2 separate regions of the Homo sapiens genome follow, and region 1 is linked to region 2. The links are contacts of gene promoters, found by promoter capture Hi-C in human tissues and cell types (Jung and others, 2019). All regions are on one chromosome and are shown on one strand. The core of a region is centred on a gene start or on the middle of the fragment in contact, and the rest is flanking DNA. Distances in the headings are between cores, read along the strand shown. Region 1 overlaps ITCH (itchy E3 ubiquitin protein ligase). Region 2 holds the start of MAPRE1 (microtubule associated protein RP/EB family member 1).

Region 1 (6,559 bases), core at 2,625-5,124, 1.6 Mb after region 2:
AGTAAAACACTGTGAAATGGTTCTTCCTGGTCCATGGCTTAATTGTGCATGTCCCTAGTTTATCCGTCCAGGGAGAGCCAGTGGGGTTGGCTTCAGTCTTAAAATTGTCAGTACAGTATGTCACGTGCCAAACTTTTCAGACCTCATCTGTAACTTGGGCTCAGACCTTTTGTAGTGTTTCCCGCTGGCCTCCCTGTTCTCACATCTTCTCATAATCATGTCTGTCAGGAGGAGCAAGGCAGTTCTCGACAGCACTAAATCCAAGAGTTATTATATCAGTAGTGTAATGTAGCTCATATCCTTTAAAACCTCATCAATCAACCAGGTTTCTGTAGTAGGCCGGTGACATGGGGTTGTAGGGGTGGGTAAAGAAACAAGAAGAGATAGCAGGGGAGCTGCTCTATATTGAGATTTAAGAGAAACAACCAAATGTAACGTAAGGACTTTGTTTGGGTCCTGATTTTAACAAATAAGCAATCATGCATTTAATTACAGATTAGGTATTGGATGATAAAATTAACATTGATTCTTTACCACATGTCATAATGACATTGTGATTATGTAAGAAAATGTCAGCCTGGCGCGGTGGCTCACACCTGTACTCCCAGCACTTTGGGAGGCCGAGGCGGGTGGATCACGAACAAGGTCAGGAGTTTGAGGCCAGCCTGACCAACATGGTGAAACCCGGTCTCTACTAAAAATACAAAAAGTTAGCTGGGCGTGGTGGCGCGTGCCTGTGATCCCAGCTACTCAGGAGGCTGAGGCAGGAGAATCACTTGAACCTGGGAGCCGGAGGCTACAGTGAGCCGAGATCGTGCCACTGTACTCCAGCCTGGGCGACAGAGTGAGACTCCATCTCAAAAAAAAAAAGAAAAGAAAATGTCCACAAATTTTAGAGAGACATACTAAAATATGTAGTAGAGGTGAAATAATGTTTGATTTTCGCTTCAACAAAGAACAGGAGAAAAGAGATAAAGAAACTTGGCAAAGTCTTGATAAGTGTTGAATCCTGGTGCTGGGTATGTGGGAATGTGGGATTCATTGCCCTGTTTTACTTGTTTTTTTTTTCTTCCCCATAGTGAAATTATTTTTAATGCAGTTAGACTCTTGTTTATCTTACTGAAGAAGAAAGGGTTTAACCAAATCTTACTGGGTGACCATGTAATTATCTCTACTTAATTATACATTTAAATCAAAACAGACTTAATATCTCTACACAGAGTCGGTGTGACTTTTGTTTTCTTTTTCCAAAGGTTGACTCTTACTTTGCTTTCATCTTATCTAGCCAAATCTTTCTCTCCACCAATGTGATCATTGGAAACAGAACTTTTAAGAAGTCTTCCATACAGTTCTAGGCTCATTAACACTTTCCAGCTGGAAACCTTTCCTTCCACTCATCTGGCAGCCCACTCTTCCTGTTCCCCCAACTCTCTTCTCATAATTCTTTGTATGTCACATGTTCTGTATTTGATCTTCTGTTTTTGAGTTACACATATAATATTTTTCATAGTCATATGATGATTCTGGGTACTGGTATTGTAAATGACTTTTGGGGGGGTTATATATTTTTCTAATTTTTATATTATTGATGTAAAATTTGTAGCACAAAGGAAAAATGGTCATTTTGGGGATGAGGATTACATATATGTGTAGTATTTTAATTTTAAATAATTTTAAATGTTAGGTAATGTTTGCACCGGTTTTTTTTAAACCAAACCAAAGTATATTGGCATTTATCCATAACCATGTGACACTTCTTTAAGATACAAACTCTCTGTGTTATACATTGCCAGGGAAGGGAAATCAGAACTCATAAGCTTGCTGTCAGATAAGTTGTTAAGTTGTTAATAGTTTCATCACTTTTTGGTTCTTTTTAGAATCAAGATTTATTTGCTACATCACAAAGTAAAGAATTTGATCCTCTTGGTCCATTGCCACCTGGATGGGGTAAGTCACATGAGTTTCTTCATGGAGTTCTGTCATTTCATTTTTGTTCTCTTCCAATTGTGTCATTTTAAAACAGATATTTATGTCTGATACTGTGCTCTTGCTTGAGTGAATGTCTGGGAAGTTTTTTTTTAATATATATATCAGTTTAATTCACAAATAGGCATTAAATTCCCCAAACATTAAGTGGACTCTTTATAAACTTTTATTGACGCTCATAATTATTTTACTCTTCTACAGTTTAAAGATACTGATCACCCAGCAATAAAAAAGGAATGGGCTATTGATACACCAGTAGGTCTGGGTGGACTTCAAGAGTAATTTGCTTGATGAAGAAAGTCAGTCTCAAAAGATCACAACCTGTGTGATTCAATTCATATAACATTCTCAAAATGACAAAACTAGAGATGGAGAACATATTAGTACTTGTCAGGAAACAGGGTAGGTGGGAAGTGGATTCAAATATTAAAAGGTAACATAAGGGGGTTTTACGTGATGATGATGATTCCATCATCTTGATTCCATCAAGATCCACAAGATGATTCTGTATCTTGATTTTGGTAATAGGTGATTACATTAATAATGTATACATGAGATAATGCATAGAACTATATATTTACAGAAATGAATTCAGCTTTTAAACATGGTGAAAATTTAACAATGTTTGTGGTTAACAATAATGTACCAATGCCACTTCTGTGGTTTTGATGCTGTACGTAGTTATATAAGATGTCACCATCGGAGAAAAATGAAGTATATGTGAGACTTTTTGTGCAATTTTTTACATCCTGTGAGTAATAATTAATTCAAAATAAAAAGCTTTTTAAAAAATTGTAATCACATTGGTTCTCCTAAAACAAGGTTCAGAGTTTGGTTAAGTTGGCATTATCTGATAGAAGAGTGGAAGGAGCACATGTGAAGGTGTCAACTTCATGCCCTACACCATGGAGCTCAAGAGCATGTGCTGTTATTGAGTATATCTGATACCTTAGTTATTAAAATAGACCTTAATAGACTTTAAGCTGGACCTACCCTACTAGGTTCTATTTTATAGTGTTATGTAATACTCACAGCATTATATAGCAAGGTTTCAGAATAAAGATGGCAGTATAGAAAGTTTTGCATAGAAGCAAGATAATAATATATTATAATAGAAAGTGGAAAACAACATAAAGCCCATTGTGGAACCAGAGTTTTGTCTTCAAGAGCTGAAGATACTTCATAATATTGGGATAAATTCAGAAAGTGATATTTCTAGATTGGGAAAAGTTGGTCCCCAAGATACATTGTTCTAGCAGTACTGAGTTATGGAGAAAAAATGTTGGTGTGTCAAGATCACATGAGTCTGGTTAATAAATGCTACTGGGGGTATAAGCTTTTCTTTGAGAAATCTCATTGCTCTTATTTAAAGGTATCTATTCTCAAAACACTTCTGTGAGTCAAAAAGGTAAAAAATGTATTAGGCTATACATATAACTGTTACTGTTATTAGCTTATAACAACAGGAGGACATATGAAAGTTGTGGGCCCGATGCAGTGACTTACACTTATAATCCTAACACTTTAGGAGGCTGAGGCAGGTGAATCGCTTCAGTTCAGGAGTTCAAGACCAGCCTGACCAACATGGTGAAACCCTGTCTCTACTAAAAATACAAAAAAATTAGGTGGGCTTGGTGGCCCGTGCCTGTAATCCCAGCTGCTCAGGAGGCTGAGGCAGGAGAGTCACTTGAACCCGGGAGGCGGAGGTTGCAGTGAGCCAAGATCGCGCCATTGCACTCCAGCATAGGCGACAGAGCGAGACTCCGTCTCAAAAAAAAAAAAAAAAAGAAATTAGCCAGGCATGGTGGTGCTTGCCTATAGTCCCAGCTACTCTTGAGGCTGACGTGGGAGGATCGCTTGAGCTTGGGAGTTTGAGGCTTCAGAGAGTCGAGATCACACTATTGCACTCCAGCCCGGGTGAGAGAGCAAGACCCTGTCTCAAAAAAAAGAAGAAAGCAAGTTGTGAATTTCTGTCTTTACCAAAGCTTGGCAGCCTGGAGTTAAGGAGTCCTCTGTCTCTACTGAAGCCTAAGAGTGGTCAGTGAATGGTTAGTATGAAGTACTTTAGAAGAGGGGATGTTGCCCTTACAAGGCATATTAAACTTAACCTGTCAGATTGCATTCCCAGACATGGATGGTTTTATTTCTAGAGTTTCCCAGCTTTATTTCTAGAGTTGTATGTCTTATGTTAGAGAAGGAGAAAAAAACTCATGCACTAAAATGATATATCCAAAGGATATGTATTTATCCTCTTAATTTTATTGCAGGCCAGGCATGGTGGCTCACACCTGTCATCTCAGCGCTTTGGGAGGCTGAAGTGGGAACATTGCTTGAGCCCGGGAGTTGGAGATCAGCCTGGGCAACATAGCGAAAACCTGTCTCTATAAAAAAATACAAAAAATAATCTGGGTGTGGTGGAACACCTCCTAATCCCAGTTTCTTGGGAGGCTGAGGTGGGAGGATCACCTGAGCCTGGGAAGTCAAGGCTGCAAGTAGGCCAAGATTTTGCCACTGTGCTTCAGCCTGGGCAACAGAGTGAGACCCTGTCTCAAAAAAAAAAAAAAAAAAAAAAAGTTGCAGAAAAACTATGACCTGCTTCATGGTTATGGTCAGAAACAAAACTGTTTTACTCCTTCTCTAGGGCAGGTGTAGAAAAAAATGCCTCTTGCTTATAGAAAGCTGAATTGTGAGCTGCGTTTCCTTTATCAGAAAAGTCTTTCCTGCAAGTTGGTCCTTGCCTTCTGTATTCATCATTTTCTTTATCATCCAGATCTTTCTCATTTTTACTTTAGCCAACAACACTTTGCTAAAATACTGTGTTAAAGATCCAGCTTAGCCAGGTTATTAGAGTCTTGTTCTGCTATTTTACAGTCTGCTTATTTTTAGGTTTCACATTCCTCATGTTGAAGTAGTGCTACAGATGTTTATGATTATCCTACTCAGACTGAGCACTGCTTTATGACTTGCTGCCTTTGGGGCATATACCTTACTTGTAGAACCAGTGACAGCACTGGTAGTATATCAGATGAAGCAACCCACCCAACATACCTTCAGGATTGACCCAGGTTGATAGAATCCCATCTTACAGCTTGCACCCTTTCAGACTTTTATATGCTGGGACTAGACATTCCTACCTCATAGGCTCAGTGAATAATTGGTTTTTTAGAGATGGGGGTCTCCCTGTGTTGCCCAGGCTGGGGTGCAGTGGCTGTTCTCCAGCATAGTAATTGCACACTACAGCTTTGAACTCCTGGCCTCAAGCAATGCCTCAGCCTCCTGAGTAGCTGGAATTACAGTTTTGTGCCACGATGCCTAGCTAGGCAGTGAAGAATTTTTAACACATGAACATACTATAGAGGATAAAGAACAAAGAATACTTTTGGTTCACCAGTATTATTTAATAGGGCTTTGTATAGGTGCTTCGCCAATCAAGTATGAAGATATTCTCTCATTTTCCTAGTTACTGTGAAAGAATACATAGAATGACAAGAAGTGTCTGTTTTTTACTGTTTTATTCATCAAGTCAGGAAGTGTTCTAATCTGCATTTGGATTTGATGTTCAGTAATTTCAGTATTGTTTATTATGTGATTTTTCAACAAAGTCAGAAATCCGTTCTACAGCCACAGCACTTCCTCTCATTAAGTAGATGAGCCTTCAGTTCACAAATGTGTCAAGGCTGATCTCAGCAGCATATACTTAGAATATATATGAGAAAAATGTTTGCTATTAATTTTCTCTTGCCTCATGTTATCTTCTGAAAGGAAAATCTTGGCCTGAAATCTGAACTTTGCTGACAGATAAAAGATGAATGGCCATTACAGTGGCTCACGCCTGTAATCCCAGTACTTTGGGAGGCCAAGGCTTGTGTCCAGGAGTTCGATACCAGGCTGGGGCAACATGGTGAAACCCCATCTTTACAAAAAATACAAAAATTAGTTGGGTGTGGCATGCCTGTAGTTCCAGCTACTTGGGTGGCTGAAGTGGGAGGGTTGCTTGAGCCCCGGAGGTCAAGGCTATAGTGCGCTGTGATTGTATCACTGCACTCCAGCCTGGACAACAGAGTGATACTCTTTCAAAAAACCAAAAGAGAGAGAAAAAAGTTGAGTATGTGCTCAGCTATATACTTAGGGTATTATTTTTAGGTTATAAAAATTATTTGGATATATATTTTTAAACAAGAAAGAGAATTCTGGCTGGGTACGGTGGCTCATGCCTGTAATTCCAGCACTTTGGGAGGTCGAGGCGGGTGAATCACCTGAGGTCAGGAGTTCGTGATCAGCCTGGCCAACATGGTGAAATGCTGTCTCCACAAAAAATACAAAAATTAGCTGGGAGTGGTGGTGGACGTCTGTAGTACCAGCTATTTGGGAGGCTGAGGCAGGAGAATTGCTTAAACCTGAGAGGTCGAGGCTGCAGTGAGCTGAGATCGCGCCACTGCACTCCAGTCCAGCCTGGGTGACAGAGCAAGGCTCCGTCTCAAAAAAGAAGAAGAAGAACAAAGAGAGAATTCTGGATTCTGCAAATAAATTTTTAAAATTTAATGCGACTGCCAAGACATGAACTTATCTTGCT
Region 2 (7,044 bases), core at 3,950-6,449:
GCACATGCCTGTGATCCCAGCTACTTGGGAGGCTGAGGCAAGAGAATCGCTTGAACCTGGAAGGCAGAGGTTGCAGTGAGCCTGGATGGCGCCATTGCACTCCAGCCTGGGCAACAGGAGTGATACTCCATCTCAAAAAAAAAAAAAGAAGAAGAATTGGCTGGGCGCTGTGGCTCACACCTGTAATCCCAGCACTTTGGGACGCTGAGGTGGGCAGATCATTTGAAGTCAGGAGTTTGAGACTAGCCTAGCCAACAGGCTACTACCTGTCTCTACTGAAAATACAAAAATTAGCCGGGTGTGGTGGTGCAGGCCTGTAATCCCAGCTACTTGGGAGGCTGAAGCGGGAGAATTGCTTGAACTCAGGAAGCGGAGGTTGCAGTGAGCAGAGATCACACCACTGCACTCCAGCCTGGTTGACAGAGCGAAACACCGTCTCAAAAACAAAACAAAACACAAGAAGAATCTATCTCACCACAAAGCACTATGTATTATAATTTCTGATTTTTTTTTTTTTTTTTTTTTTTTAGGCAGCGTCTTGCTCTGTTGCCTAGGCTTGAATGCAGTGTGGTGATCACAGGCTCACTGCAGCCTCGACCTCCCAGGATCCATTGATCCTCCCACCTGAGCCTCCAGAGTAGCTGGGACTTCAGGTGCATGCCACCACGCTTGGCTGATTTTAAAATTTTTTTGTGGAGTTTGAATCTTGCCATGCTGTCTCTCCTTGGCCTCCCAAAGTGCTGGGATTACAGGCATGAGCCACCACATCTGGCCTATAACTTCTTATTTTTGTAGTCTTCTCCTCCATGAGTTTGTGAGATTCTCAAAGCAGCTTGATCTCCCAACATCATTATTTAGTTCAATAAAGTTGTCATACATTTGTAAAACTCAGGCCTTGAAGTACAATTATTTTGTTTGTTTTGTTTTTGGACAGGAGAGTCATAATTTCTATCTGTGATAATGAGATTGCTTCACATATTAAAACAGTTGCTTTAAGATACATATTACATCTCCGGAGCCATTTCTCTTACAGGATGGAGATTCTTTTTTCTTTTTACCCTCTGGCCTTTTGCTGTCAAGGCTTAATCTGACCCAGATAACCTTGGCCAGCTTTTTCCTCAGTGAGAAGAGTGGATGCTAGCAGGTTACCTGGCCCAATGTCAGTTTTTTGGGAGCTGTCTTGGGAGGGTAGATGAGTTGTACTTTAGAGGGCCTTGCTCCTCTAAAATAGAGTTATCTCCTGTAACTTCCTGTGTCTCCAGAATTAGGTCCAAACTTTCTAGGCTGGCTTTTTTTTTTTCCCCACCTGGAGACAGAATCTCACTCTGTCGCCCAGGCTGGAGTGCCGTGGTGTGATCTCAGCTCACTGCAACCTCTGCCTCCCTGGTTCAAGCGATTCTCCTGCCTTAGCCTCCTGAGTAGCTGGGATTACAGACGCATGCCACCATGCCCTGCTAATTTTTGTATTTTTAGTAGAGATGGGGTTTCACCATATTGGCCAGGCTGGTCTCGAACTCCTGACCTCAAGTGATCCGCCCACCTTGGCCTCCCAAAGTGCTGGGATTACAGAGCCATCATGCCACTGCACCCGGCCTAGAGGCTTTTCCTGATTTGGTTTTCTACACTGATCTCATCCCCCATACTAATGTCCTCACTCCAGACCAAAATGGCCTGCAGGTAATGCTGATACCAATTAATTGACATAATTTAATAACTGACTTTAGACGAAAGGACTCAGAAATCACATTTATTGAGCACATACTATGTGCTAGGCGCAGTCTGATAACTTTATACACTTCCCATTTAATTCTAACAGAATTTGAACCCAGACATACTGGCTTCGCCGTTTATTATTTAGCCTAATGAAAAGTTAATGTCTTTGTGGATAAAACAGAGGTGGCTGGGTGTGGTGGCTCACGCTTGTAATCCCAGCACTTTAGGAGGCCAAGGTGGGCGGATCACGAGGTCAGGAGTTTGAGACCAGCCTGGCCAATATGGTGAAACCCTGTCTCTACTAAAAATACAAAAATTAGCCGGGCATGGTGGTGTGTGCCTGGAATCCCATCTACTCAGGAGGCTGAGGCAGGAGAATGGCTTGAACCCAGGAGGCGGAGGTTGCAGTGAGCCGAGATCACACAATTCCACTCCAGCCTGGGCGACAGAGTGTCTCTGTTTCTTCGTTTTTTAAAAAGAATATAAATAAATAAAATACAGGTAACAGATGTTGCATCAAAGCACTTATAAATATCTTTAGTTGATTATCTATGCTTGACATCAGCTCACCATAATGTTCATATTACTGCTGTCGCTATAATCATTTGTTACATGGTTTTTTATTCTTTATTGTTGCCTCTTTTTTTTTCTTTTTCTTTTCTTTTTTTTTTTTTTTTGAGTTGGAGTCTTGCTCTTTTGCCCAGGCTGGAGTGCAATGGTGCCATCTCGGCTCATTGCAACGTCCACCTCCTGGGTTCAAGCAATTCTCCTGCCTGAGCCTCTCGAGTAGTTGGGATTATAGGTGTCCGCCACCATGCCCAGCTAATTTTTGTATTTTTAGTAGAGACGGGGTTTCACCATGTTGGCCAGGCTGTTCTCCAACTCCTGACCTCGTGATTTGCCGACCTCAGCCTTCCGAAGTGCTGGAATTACAGGCACGAGCCACCGCGCCTGGCTTTTCTTGCCTTTTTTTGCTCAAACTCTGTTTTTTTTTTTTCTTTGAGACAGAGTCTTGCTCTATCACCCAGGCGGGAGTGCAGTGGCACGATCTCAGCTCACTGCAACCTCCACCTCCTGGGTTCAACCAATTCTCCTGCTCCATCCTCCCAAGTAGCTGGGATTACAGGCGCGCGCCACCACGCCCAACTAATTTTTGCATTTTTAGTAGAGACGGGGTTTCACCACGTTGGTCAGGCTAGTCTCAGACTCTTGACCTCGTGATCCGCCCACCTCGGCCTCCCAAAGTGCTGGGATTACAGGCATGAGCCACCACAACTGGCCTTGCTCAAACTCTTTTGCCAAGGTAACTCCTCATCTTTCATGGTAAGTGTCATTTCTGGGAAGCTTTTCCACACTACCTAGGAGAGGTCATGTCTCTTGTGGTGTGCTCTTGGAGCAGTACTCGAGACCGAAGTATTGAAATGCCTCTAGACCTGCTGATAAACAGCTCCTGCCCCAGCTTCCCCACCCATTCTTCCCTGAACGTCTTACTGGGTTTCAGCAACTAACTGGGTGAGATTTGGCCTAGAGGGACCTCTAGGCCCCTGCTCCACACAGTGGAAGTACCATCAGCCCACCACATAATGTCCCTGCCTAGCATTGAGCCTGATTTGTAATTTAACAAGGATTTGTGTCATTAGTTGTGTCCCCTTTGCCTCCCCTGCCAGTCTGGAAACTTTAAGAGGTCAGAAGCTGTGTCTAGTTTTCGTTTTTATCTCTTAGAGATGGAGTTTCACTCTGTTTCCCAGGCCTGGAGTGCAGTGGCGTGATCTTTGCTCACTGCAGCCTCGAACTCCTGGGCTCAAGCGATCCTCCTGCCCCAGCCTTCCCAGTAGCTGGAACTAAAGGCACGTACCACCATGATCAGATTGTGTCTTTTTTTCACCAGGGCCTGATTGGTCAGGGAAAATATTTGTTGAATACTTGAATAAATGATACCCAGACAAAAAAAGTCAGCTTGAAATCTGGATCTACCTCTGACACTGAGTGAGTCAATTGGCCTCTTTGTCCCTCAGTTTCTTTCTGCTGTAAAGTGGTGCAGTTCCTCTTTTTTTCTTTTTTAGACGAAGTCTGACTGCAACCTCTGCCTCCCAGGTTCAAGTGATTCTCCTGCCTCAGCCTCCCAAGTAGCTGGGATTACAGGCGCCCACCACCATGCCCGGCTAAGTTTTGCATTTTTAGTAGAGATGGGGTTTCGCCATGTTGGACAGGCTGGTTTCCAACTCCTGACCTCAGGTAATTCATCCGCCTTGGCCTCCCAAAGTGTTGGGATTACAGGTGTGAGCCACCACGCCCAGCCCAGTTCCTCCTTCAGCCAAGGCTCTCTTGAGAATGTAAGGGCCAGGTGTGGTGGCTCACGCCTGTAATCCCAGCACTTTGGGAGGCCGATGCGGGTGGATCTCTCGAGCCCAGGAGACCAGCCCAGCCTGGGCAACATGGCAAGACCCCATCTCTTAAAAAAAAAAAAAAAAAAAAGAGGGAGTGGGCAAGAGAGAATGTATGTACAGCCATTGGGAAACAACCCGGAACAGGACTCAGGAGGTCCTTGCTCCTGTGGACTTTACAGGAGACAGACAGTAAAGGCACAAGATGCCTTCTTATGGTACTAAGAAGAAAATATGCCGCATGATATTGCAGATGGGGGGGCGGGGGCGTCACAGAACGTGACTTTTTTTTTTTTTTTTTGAGACAGAGTCTTGCTCTGTCGCCCAGACTGGAGTGCAGTGGTGCAGTCTCGCCTCACTGCCACCTCCGTCTCCTGGGTTCAAGTGATTCTCCTGCCTCAGCTTCCCAAGTAGCTGGAATTACAGGCGCCCACCACCACGCCAGGCTAATTTTTGTATTTTTAGTAGAGATGGGGTTTCACTATGTTGGCCAGGCTGGTCTCAAACTCCTGACCTCAGGTGATCCTCCCACCTGGGCCTCCCAAAGTGCTGGGATTAAAGGCGTGAGCCACTGCACCCGGCCCAGAAAGTTGACTTCTAAGCGTTTCCCCAAAGTGTCTATTAGGTATCTTTATGATTCAATAACCCATTCTTACAGAAATTAATTGTAAGCCTGGGAGCGGTGGCTCACGCCTGTTATCCCAGCGCTTTGGGAGGCTAAGGCGGGAGGATCGCTTGAGGCCAAGAGTTCGAGACCACCCTGGGCAACACAGCGAGACCTCCATACATCTCTAAGCAAAAAAAAAAAAAAATTCATTGTAAAAGCAATTTTCTTTTTGGTTACTGCCATAGGGATTTTGTAACTGAGTCACACCGGGCCGAGGCGGGACCTCATTGGCTGCGACCGACCACGTGCCGCAGTCGCCCCGGCGGTCGGGGCCCCGCCCCTCGGCTACCGTTCTGTGGATCAGGGGCCGAGCTCCGCCCCCGGCGCGCGGCTGAGACCCTCTCTATAAAAGGAGCCGGCGGAGGATGGCGAGCCTTTACGTCGGCGCGTAACGAGGGGGTGCGTGTGAGGTCATCGCGCGGGCGGGCGGGCGGGGTCTGGCGGTTTGAACGAGACGAAGACGGAACCGGAGCCGGTTGCGGGCAGTGGACGCGGTTCTGCCGAGAGCCGGTGAGCCGGCTAGCGGGCCCGGGGGGTGCGGCTGGGGGGGCGGCCGCGTGGGCCAAGGCCGGGCGTGCGCGGGCAGGCCCTACGGGCAGCGCCAGGGCCGTTCCACACGGCGGTGCTGTTCGAGCCGGGTGGGGGAAGGGCGGGGCCGTCACCCGGCGCGCGCGGGCTGGGCCTGGGGGCGCGCGCTGCGCTCTGCTCAGGGGGCGGGGTCTCGGGCCGGAAGTGGGCTGCTGCTACGCGGGGTGGGGGTTTCTGGGCCGCCGCTGAGGTGTGGTCCCTGCGCTGCAGCGACTGGAGGTCCCAGGGTGGTTGGGCCCTGGGAGGGTGTGGGCGAGGTGGGCCGTCCTGGGAGCTCTGGGGACGCACATTGTGGGAGGCCGTGTTGCCTGAGGGCCGAGAGATCGGGTGGTGGAGTCAGACCTGGGTTGGGTTCCGTGCGGTGTGACCTTGGACAGGTGCTTTAACCGCTGTGGATCTCAGCTTCCTCATCTGTAAAACGGGGACAGTAATACTACCCACATTAAACTCTTAGCGCGATGTATGGCAGAAAGTAAGCCAGCTCTTGGACTCCCTCCTTTCTTCAGTGTGTGTTTATTGAATGCCCACTAGGTGTTGGGCACCGTGCTAAACCCTGGCTGTTTTCCCGGGAACAAAGATTTGCTCTCCAGGAATCCACATTATGATGAGCAGGAGGACAGTATAACGGGATGGTATCAACAGTGCTAGTTCAGTCCCTACTTCACAGTTGCCCTCGGATGCTGCAGGGCAGAGCTTGACCTCTGCCCCATTTTGGGGATGAGGATCCTGGGGCCCATTGAGGGAGGTTATGCTAGGCCGGGCATCCGCTTCTCCGATGGCATGTCTCTAACAGTAGTAATGATAATAGCAGCTCTTTGTTAGTTGGGCACTTGTTTTGTGTCAAGCACTGTTAAGTGCTCCATGTGGCTTTGTGTCTTTTAATACTAACACTGTCTTTAAGAGAGATTCTCTTCTTCCTTTTTTTTTTTTTTTTGAGACAGAGTTTTATTCTGTTGCCCAGGCGTGCAGTGGCACCATCGCTCACTGCAACCTCCGCCTCCCGGGTTCAAGCGATTCTCGTGCCTCAGCCTCCCGAGTAGTCGGGATTACAGGCGCGCGCCACCAAGCCCGGCTAATTGTTGTATTTTTTAGTAGAGACGAGGTTTCGCCATGTTGGCCAGGCTGTTGTCGAACTCCTGACCTCAAGTGATCTGTCCGCCTCGGCCTCCAAAGTGTTGGGATTACAGGTGTGAGCCACCGCGCCTGGCAAGAGAGATTACTTTCATTTTACAAATAAGGGGTCTGAGACTCTGAGAGGCGGAGTGTCTTATGCAGCCCAGCAAGTGGCTGAACCCCCACCTGGGACTTCAGTGTCTAGGCTCTTAACCTCTTTATTACACTTTCTCCCTGAGGTCCAGAGCTACACATCCAGATGTGCCCTTTGTGGTGGTGCGTCAAAGTGCCTAGCACAGTTTTTGGCACAGAGGGAAGCTTAGGACGTGATGTGCCTTTTGCTTAAGTGTTTTCATGTAGATTTTTGTTTAATCCTTACCACCACTTTGTGCAGAGATACTGTTTTACCCATTTTACAGGATGAGCCATTTGTGATGCAGGAAGATTAAGTGACTTGCCCACGGTCACATAGGTCCTTTCTGGTGGCACCTCCTTCCCCCACTTTACATAGGGCTTATTGTGGTGCCTTGAAAGTAATAGAGTGCTTTAGAGCCAGCGTTGAATTTGTATAGGTTTGGG

What was found. Contacts are between HindIII fragments. The study calls those that stand out against the background at their distance.
Region 1: a contact is called between a fragment that was not itself captured here and the fragment with the promoter of MAPRE1 in region 2, in 1 of the 25 tissues and cell types used here (dorsolateral prefrontal cortex).

What each region holds. Positions count from the first base shown.
Region 1 is chr20:34,447,534-34,454,092 of GRCh38, forward strand. It overlaps ITCH (itchy E3 ubiquitin protein ligase), which reads left to right. Exons shown (of 25, transcript NM_031483.7): 12 at 1,878-1,947. Among named protein-coding and RNA genes, the nearest start is that of MIR644A, 16 kb to the right of the region's middle. The HindIII fragment of the contact is 3,166 bases long and covers 2,292-5,457 here.
Region 2 is chr20:32,814,755-32,821,798 of GRCh38, forward strand. It overlaps MAPRE1 (microtubule associated protein RP/EB family member 1), which reads left to right and starts at 5,200. Exons shown (of 7, transcript NM_012325.3): 1 at 5,200-5,274. RefSeq lists a silencer at 4,917-5,506 and enhancers at 5,579-6,248, 6,249-6,918. The HindIII fragment of the contact is 10,810 bases long and covers 1,332-7,044 here.